Regions from separate parts of the Homo sapiens genome. Here region 1 is linked to region 2. The links are contacts of gene promoters, found by promoter capture Hi-C in human tissues and cell types (Jung and others, 2019). All regions are on one chromosome and are shown on one strand. Each heading gives the region's core, a stretch centred on a gene start or on the middle of the fragment in contact. The rest is flanking DNA. Distances are from core to core; before and after follow the strand shown. Region 1 overlaps SPECC1L (sperm antigen with calponin homology and coiled-coil domains 1 like). Region 2 holds the start of PIWIL3 (piwi like RNA-mediated gene silencing 3).

What was found. Contacts are between HindIII fragments. The study calls those that stand out against the background at their distance.
Region 1: a contact is called between a fragment that was not itself captured here and the fragment with the promoter of PIWIL3 in region 2, in 2 of the 25 tissues and cell types used here (dorsolateral prefrontal cortex and thymus).

Annotation. Positions count from the first base shown.
Region 1 is chr22:24,398,373-24,402,519 of GRCh38, reverse strand. The region is part of intron 14 of SPECC1L (sperm antigen with calponin homology and coiled-coil domains 1 like); the gene reads right to left. All of the region lies in intron 15 of SPECC1L-ADORA2A (SPECC1L-ADORA2A readthrough (NMD candidate)), which reads right to left. The region is part of intron 1 of LOC105372960 (a long non-coding RNA gene); the gene reads left to right. Among named protein-coding and RNA genes, the nearest start is that of ADORA2A, 27 kb to the left of the region's middle. RefSeq lists an enhancer at 1,024-1,083. The HindIII fragment of the contact is 4,142 bases long and covers 1-3,842 here.
Region 2 is chr22:24,772,446-24,776,486 of GRCh38, reverse strand. PIWIL3 (piwi like RNA-mediated gene silencing 3) reads left to right here and starts at 1,767. Exons shown (of 21, transcript NM_001255975.1): 1 at 1,767-2,165. The HindIII fragment of the contact is 9,839 bases long and covers 1-4,041 here.

The DNA of each region.
Region 1 (4,147 bases), core at 522-3,021, 370 kb after region 2:
AGTGAGTTACTAACAAAACCCTGGCTCACGATGCCCCCCTATACTGTGGCAGAGTTTGGGAGCCTGAGTGAGGTGAGTGAGGTTCCTTTTCTGTGTAGTATGGTGGGAGAAGATATAATGTCTGAAAGAGAGTAAAAAAACCATCGAGACTGTTGATTGATATCTCTGGGTAGTGGCTGTTAAACACAGAATGCCCTGGGAGTGATGAATGGGCACCTGCCTGGGGCCGGTGGTGCCTGTGGGGTAACCTGGCCAGGCCCTCTAGCTGCTGATCTAAGGGTGCTGCCCTGGGGACTACAGTGCTTATCTCCTCCCTGAAGCAGGGCCAATCTCTGCTCCAGGTCAGGGGAGGGGAGAGAAGGGAAGGGGAGGGAAGGGGAAGGAAGGGGAAGGAAGGGGAAGGAAGGGGAAGGAAGGGGAAGCAGTACATTTTCAGGGAGAGTCTTGCCTGGCTCATCATGGAGCCCAGGTGTTGGTACTTACATGGTAAAGAGGGAGCAAGAAGGAGGCAGGGCAGGCGGCCGAGGTAGGGCAGGCGGCCGAGGTGGAGCTGGCAGCCTCTGGAGATAAGCCCTGCATGTCTTTGCTCTTGATCTAATACGGACCCTCAATCCTCACTGTGCGCTAGAATCACTGCAAAGATTTTTCGGGTTTTCCTACGCTTGCCCCACCCCAGAGACATTCATTCACGTGGTGTGAACGAGTCAGGGCATAATGTTCTTTAAAGGTACCCAGGTGATCTGAATCCACAGCCAACAGGAAGGCTCACCATTTGAAAAACTGAAGTTAGGTGTTAAGTACAATGGGGTGGTACATCTAAAATGTGACATCGGTGAGTTTATGGTGATATCTACAAAGGCACACCCAGCCTGGCTTGGAAACCACTCGTGAACCTGAGTGCTGGAAAATCAAGGGAGAGGAACAAGCACCTGATAGAACTTTCCAGACCAAACCATAGTCAAGGCAGCTGAACAGCTGACAAAGGGGTTTCTCTGTAAAGAGGAAGCCTAATGAAGGAAGGAGTGACAGAATTACCCAGAATGACTGACCTCGTTATCAGAGGCAGTGACATCACAGAAAGAGGCAGCCAGTCCTGCTGCGAATGGACAGAACTCCACAGCTGAGATGTTTCTGCCAAAAACATGAACTGGAATCAGATCCACCCTCCAGCTCTGCCTACCAGTTTACACCACGGACAACAGGATGGGGAAGGAACCAACAGAATCTGAACTGTGGGTCACTCTGTAGGATGCACAATCAATCCCGTTCCTTCAAAAAGAAACTGAAAGAAAAAAAGATTTATGAACTGAAAGAGACCTAAAAGAGACATACTTCCAAACACAATGTGAGAACCCTATTTGGATCTTAATTCAAGCAAACTGATTATGACACAATGGGAGGAGTGAGCTCTAAGTGTGTGGTGACATTAAGTGGCTGGTGTTTGCTTCCGAATCCTCCAGGTGGGCGTGGGGACAGTGCCCTATGCTGATATCTTGTCGCTAGGGCTATGTACAGGAGGGTTGTTTTACCATTCTCATGACTTTAGTGCATATTTGAAAATTTCCATTAAGAACAAACAAACATGAACTTGATCAACAACAGAAAGACAACCCAGTTGCCCAAACATAAAAATGAGCAAAGGACGTAAATAGAACATTTCCCCAAAGATATACAAATAGCCAACAAGCACATGAGAAGGCTCAACACGGTTAGTCACTAAGGAAATGCAAATCAAAACCACAAGAAGATGACACTTCACAGCCATTAGGATGGCTATTATTTAAAAGAAAAGAAAAACATGGTGAGGATGCAGATACTGGAATCCTTGGACACTGCTGGTGGGAACGGCAAATGATGCCGCTGCTGAGGAAGAGTTTGGCAGTTCCTCAGTAAGTTAAACACAGAGTTAATATACGGCCCAGCAATCCCACTCCTTGTCTATACTTCAAAGAACTGAAAGCAGATGTTCAAACAAATACCTGTACAGGAACGTTCCCAGCAGCACTATTCAAAAAAGCCAAAAGGTGGAAACAACCCAAATGCCCACCAATTGACAAATGAATAAACAAAATATGGTCTATCCATACAATGGATTATTTTTTGGCCATGAAAAGGAACAAAGTACGAATATACGCCACAATATGAGTAAGTATTGAAACATTATGGTAAGTGAAAGTTAGACACAAAAGGCTACATACTGTATGATTCTATTTATATGAAATATCCATAGTCAAATCCAGAGACAGAAAGTAGACGAGTGGTTGCCAAGTGCTAGGGAGGAGAAGGAGCTGACTGATGAATGGGTAGGTGGTTTCCACTTGGGGTGATCTAGTTTTGGAACTAGGTAGTGGTGATGAATACACATTGCAAATGCACTTAATGCTACCGAATTGTATGTTTAAAAATGATCAAATGGTAAATTTTTGTTACATATGTTTTACTCAAATAAAAGAGGCTGCCAGATGTTCTGAAGTACAGTTTATGCCCAGTAACTCTATACACTAGGTGGATCTCATAAACAACTAAATTATCCTGGAGTGTTTACTGAGAAGTTACATTAAAACTCAGATGATGCATGAGCATGGATTCTATGAGAATTTATTACAGCTCTGCTTTAAAAATGTAAAAATAGATATATTTCTTAAAAATAAACAGGCAGCTAAGGGTAGGAGGCAGGGTATCAGTCAGCTTGAAACTGAGTACCTCTGGTATGGCAAAAGGAACCTGATATATGTCATCCTCTGTAAATGGCTATTCCCAAGAAAGGGAAGCCATCCCTGATTCTGTGGGAGAAGCAGCCATATTTAACCACAACTACGTTGCCCCATATGCTCAAAGTAGCAAGCATACTTCTCAGATATAGCTTCAACTATATTGAAGCTTCACAAAAACAAAATCTATAGTATGTTTTGGATTTAATATGCTTTAACTTTTTTTTTTGTTTTTTTTGAAATGGAGTCTCGCTTTGTCGCCCAGGCTGGAGTGCAGTGGCGCGGATCTCAGCTCACCACAAGCTCCGCCTCCCAGGTTCACACCATTCTCCTGCCTCAGCCTCCTGAGCAGCTGGGACTACAAGCGCCCGCCACCACGCCCAGCTAATTTTTTGTATTTTTAGTAAAGATGGAGTTTCACCATGTTAGCCAGGATGGTCTCGATCTCCTGACCTCGTGATCCACCCGCCTCGGCCTCCCAAAGTGCTGGGATTACAGGCGTGAGCCACCATGCCCGGCGCTTTAACTTTTTTTAGTCAAATGAACCTATTTTGAGGGGACAGTTCAGAATAAAATAATTGGTCAGCCAATGTCACCCTAAGAGCTAGGGATTAATGTCCCCATAAACCCCTCCAGAGGGAGACGTTTCATGGAGAAGCACACAGGAATCATGATGTCTGCTTTCTGATAACTCAGGAAACTGCCACCAGGCAGAGATGGGTGTCAGGCAAGAGCCACTGGCTGGGTCACAGCTAACTGATGAACTCTGAGCATGTTGTGAGCAGTTTTATTAGCAGCTTAGGAATGATTACTGTCTTTTCCCACAGATTTAGTTTAGCTTTGGCAGGGGATATTACTCACTAAAATGCAATCTCAACTGAAAAAGACCCTCGTGGAAATCCTCAAGCAAGATCTGCCCTGGTGCATGCTCTGAGGAAGGGACTGGGTGAGGGAGGAAGGGAGGTAACGGTGCAGAATCGTGTCCTCATCCTAACCCCCAAAAGCTTTCCTGGCCTCTTTAGGGGAACTGGATTGTTTGAGGAGAAACTAATTAGGCCTTCCAAAACATCCAGGGGGGCCTTCTTTAATTTACCCTCAGGACAAATGTCACCAATTGTGTCTTCAGGCTCAGAGAGATGAATGTGGTGGAATCTGAGTGGTGTCACCAGCCATGACTTACACAGAAACACTGTTCAGAAGCCTTCTCTGAGAAAGGCCTCTTTAGTTTATGCTAGAACCTTGTGGTTACAGGAAGAAGCTTCAAGGCTGACTCCTCCTCCATTATAAGTCCTTGGAAATTCTTTATACTGATTTGAAAGCCATGTCTCTGTAGATCACTGGAAAAGCAGAGTGGTGTGGCCAAAGTATCCTAGGTTTCAGAGTCCCATGGATCTGCACTTTGATTGTTGGTGGCACTTTGTACTGCCTGTAGGACT
Region 2 (4,041 bases), core at 518-3,017:
TAGAAATTTAGGTGGTTTATCACAGACTTTTTACTTTCAGTGCCTGCTGGACAGTTCTATGACTCCACATGCCCTTGGGTAAACCAGAAGAAAGAGGAGGAAAATTAACTTACTATAGTCACCCCATTGAAAGGGCCTTTGCAAAACTCATAACTGAGAAAATTATGACAGTGAAACAGATCAGACCTAACCGACCACACCTTGCTTCTAACGCCTAAGCTGTCTTTGTTCATTCCTGGGCATAGGCCAAACTAGTCTTGGGGAAGAATTGTTTATAGTTTAAATTCTGAAACAAAACTGATAATAGTCCTTTCCTGAAAAAAAGACGCTTCTTGCGTGGGGAACTGTCCTGCCTTTGTAGGACTAACAAATTAGCTACAAGATGAGAGATTACGGCTTAGGGGCCATGCAGCTTCTGGCCGCAAGAGTCTGAACCTCCCCAAGTTGCTTCTGGGAATAAAATCTCCGTTGCAAAACTTAAGATCAGTGCTTGAGATATTTTGCATACCCTGAATTCCGATGCAGCAGATGACACCACCCAGACTGATAATCTGGCTCAACCAGTCCTGCGATCTCATCCAGGAAGAGAAATCAGCAAGAACTCACTTCCACCCCCATGATTCCATCTCCAACCCGACCAATAAGCACTCCCTACTTCCTGAGCCCATACCCACCAAATCATTTTTAAAAACTCTGATCCCCGACTGGGCATGGTGGCTCACGCCTGTAATCCCAAGGTGGGTGGATCACTTGAGGTCAGAAGTTTGAGATCAGCCTGGCCAATATCATGAAACCCCGTCTCTACTGAAAATACAAAAATTAGCCTGGTGTGGTGGCATGCACCTGTAATCCCAGCTACTCAGGAGGCTGAGTCAGGAGAATCGCCTGAACCCGGGAGGCGAAGGCTGCAGTGAGCAGAGATCACATCACTGCACTCTAGCCTGGACGACAGAACGAGACTCCATCTCAATAAATACATAGAGATATAAATAAAATAAAATAAAATAAAGTTTCTTAAAAAAAATAGGAAATCTCCTGAAAAACCTTTTCAGAAAAATAGCCACAGGTGCATGTTTGGCTCGTGTTTTTCCCAGAAACAACCTAAATCTGGCTTGATAAACCTTGATTGATGTATTTGCCCCAGTCACTCATGTTGTAACCAGCAAAAGGGCCCAGCTGCTCACTGCTTGTAGAAAGAAGTCAAAATGATAATGACATGTGATTTAAAAAGAAAGAATTTTATAATCTATGCTAGCAAGGGCAAGAGCAGAGAGCAATTCCACTCTTCCACGTGAGGAAAGAACGCAGGGGTTTTTTTTGTTTGTTTTTTGCGACGGTGTCTTGCTCTGTCGCCCAATCTGGCTGGAGTGCAGTGGCGCAATCTCAGCTCACTGCAACCTCCGCCTTCTGAGTTCAAGCGATTCTCCTGCCTCAGCCTCCCGAGTTGCTGGGACTACAGGCACATGCCACCATGCCCAGCTGATTTTTTGTATTTTTAGTAGAGACGGGGTTTCCCCGCGTTAGTCAGGATGGTCTCCATCTCCTGACCTCGTGATCCTCCGGCCTTGACCTCCCAAAGTGCTGCGATTACAGACGTGAGCCACTGCGCTCGGATGAACGCAGGGGTTTTTATTTATTTTATTTTATTTTTTAAGATATTTATTTATTTGTTTATTTTTTGAGACAGAGTCTCACTCTTTCACCCGGGCTGGAGTGCAGTGGCGTGATCTCGGCTCACTGCAAGCTCCGCCTCCCGGGTTCACGCCATTTTGCTGCCTCAGCCTCCCGAGTAGCTGGGACTACAGGTGCCCGCCACCACGCCCGGCTAATTTTTTGTATTTTTAGTAGAGATAGGGTTTCACTGTGTTAGCCAGGATGGTCTCCATCTCCTGACCTCATGATCTACCCGCCTCAGCCTGCCAAAGTGCTGGGATTACAGGCGTGAGCCACCGCGCCCGGCCAAAGCGGTTTTTAAAGGGAGGATTTGGAAGGCAAAAGAGGCAGGGGGACTGGGAGGTGTCAGGTGGTGTGACCCCCTCCAGTGGCTTGTCCTGAATTATTTTTCCATCTGTGGAAGTGGCCGGCGTCATCATGGCTGGAGGAGGTGCATGGTTCGTATCAGGATCTGACTACTGAAGCTTCTAAGGAAATATGTGACCAGATAAGTGAGTATGGTGTGTGCTTACCAAACAACTAGGTAAATAAATGTGCATAAGGCATGGGGGCATAGAACAGGAAAAGAAAGGGGGTGGAGGTTCACAGCACATTCCAAGGCTGGATTTCAAGAGGAGAGGAAACACGTCTATACTTTGTCTAAGTTACATCTTCAGATTAGCAGAAGAGAGGAAAGGGGAAAGGAAAAAAAGTTTTAAAATGCGGTTTGAGGTTAGGCTGCTAAGCTGCTGGGTTACAGATTCAGCTTATATTTGAGCATGTGGAGTATGTATATTTATTTTAAAAATCTAGAGCATCTTGGTCAGCCACAGTGGCTCATGCCTGTAATCCCAGCACTTTGGGAGGCTGAGGCGGCTGGACCATGAGGTCAGGAGTTCAAGACCAGCCTGGCCAAGATGGTGAAACCCCGTCTCTACGAAAAATACCAAAATTAACTGGGCGCAGTGGCGGGTGCCTGTAGTCCCAGCTACTTGGGAGGCTGAGGCAGGAGGATTGCTTGAACCTGGGAGGCGGAGGTTGCAGTGAGCCAAGATCGCACCACTGTACTCCAGCCTGGGCAACAGAGTGAGTGAGACTCCCATCTCAAAAAAAAAAAAAAAAAAAAAAAATCTAGAGTGTCTTGTACATATCCTTTAATAACCTACTTTTAAAAACTTAATATATTTTAGATACATATGTATATGTGTACCTACTTACATCCTTAAAACTGACGTGATGATAAATAAAACCGCGGAATTTCTATCAATATGTAAATGCTCTTCTCAGAAAAGGCGGGCTCTTTGCTCCTGTGGTTGATGGGGATGATGCAGATGGTGGCAGAGGCTTCCATTTTTTGAGCATTCGTTGTGGGACCTGCCAGTGCTTCAAGCTCAATACACCTTCTCCCATTTAACCCTCACAGCTCAGGAGGGGGTCCTGCCGGGACCTCCACTGCAGACAGGAAAAGAGGAGAAAGTTGGTATCTTCTGAATTCTTTTGGCAAAAGGAGAAGGGAAGAGGGTTCCTGTGCAGGGCATGCAGGAAGGCAGGAGTATGGAAAAGGGGGAAGGGACAGTGTGTAATGCCCTCCCTGCTGAGCCACATGGTTGGAATGGAGCATCACAGCAGAGATGGCAGAGCCAGAAACCCTAGGATCCGGTGTCAGAGGGACACAGGGCCCAGCTGCCAATGTGTGGCCCAGAGCAGTGGAGGACACCTTGGTTATGCCCTGGCACACAGCTTTCTACTGTCCTGGCATCTAAGCCCTGGGGACTGGGGCAGTGGGGTCAGTGCCCTCAGCTGGACACAGACACGTGGAGCAGAACTTGAAAAAGATGGGCCCCTGAGCCCATAGGACCCAGAGACCCAGCACCCAGGGAGGCCTGGGGAGGGAGAAGGACGCCCTCAGCTAGCACATGGGGGCTTGAGGTCCAGATAACTGTTAAGGTACCTCATCTGATCTCCCCACAGGGGACACCCGGCACATGCAGGCCTCCTTCCTGACTTCTCTGCCAACCTTTTCCCCAGCCTTAAAACTTTCTCTTCCCGATGTCATTGTGACACTTCTTCAGTTCTCCTTCTAGTCCACTAGATGCTGCTGTGCACCCACCTAAGCACCACCATTTCTAATTCCTGGGATCCTAGTTTGGGAAAGACAGGGGAGCTGGTCAGCCGTTCGGATTTCCCAGTGGGTAGAATGGAGACTGCAGCCTTTGCCAGGGCTCTTCTCCACTGTGGTAGTGATTTTAACTCCAGTAGCTGTAACTTGCTGAGCACTCAGCACCTGCTGAGCTCTTTGCACAGATTGGCTCCTGTAACCCCCACAGGCCCCTGTGACATAAGTTTTCAATACCCAACATACTAGGAAACAGGGTCTCAGAGAGATGA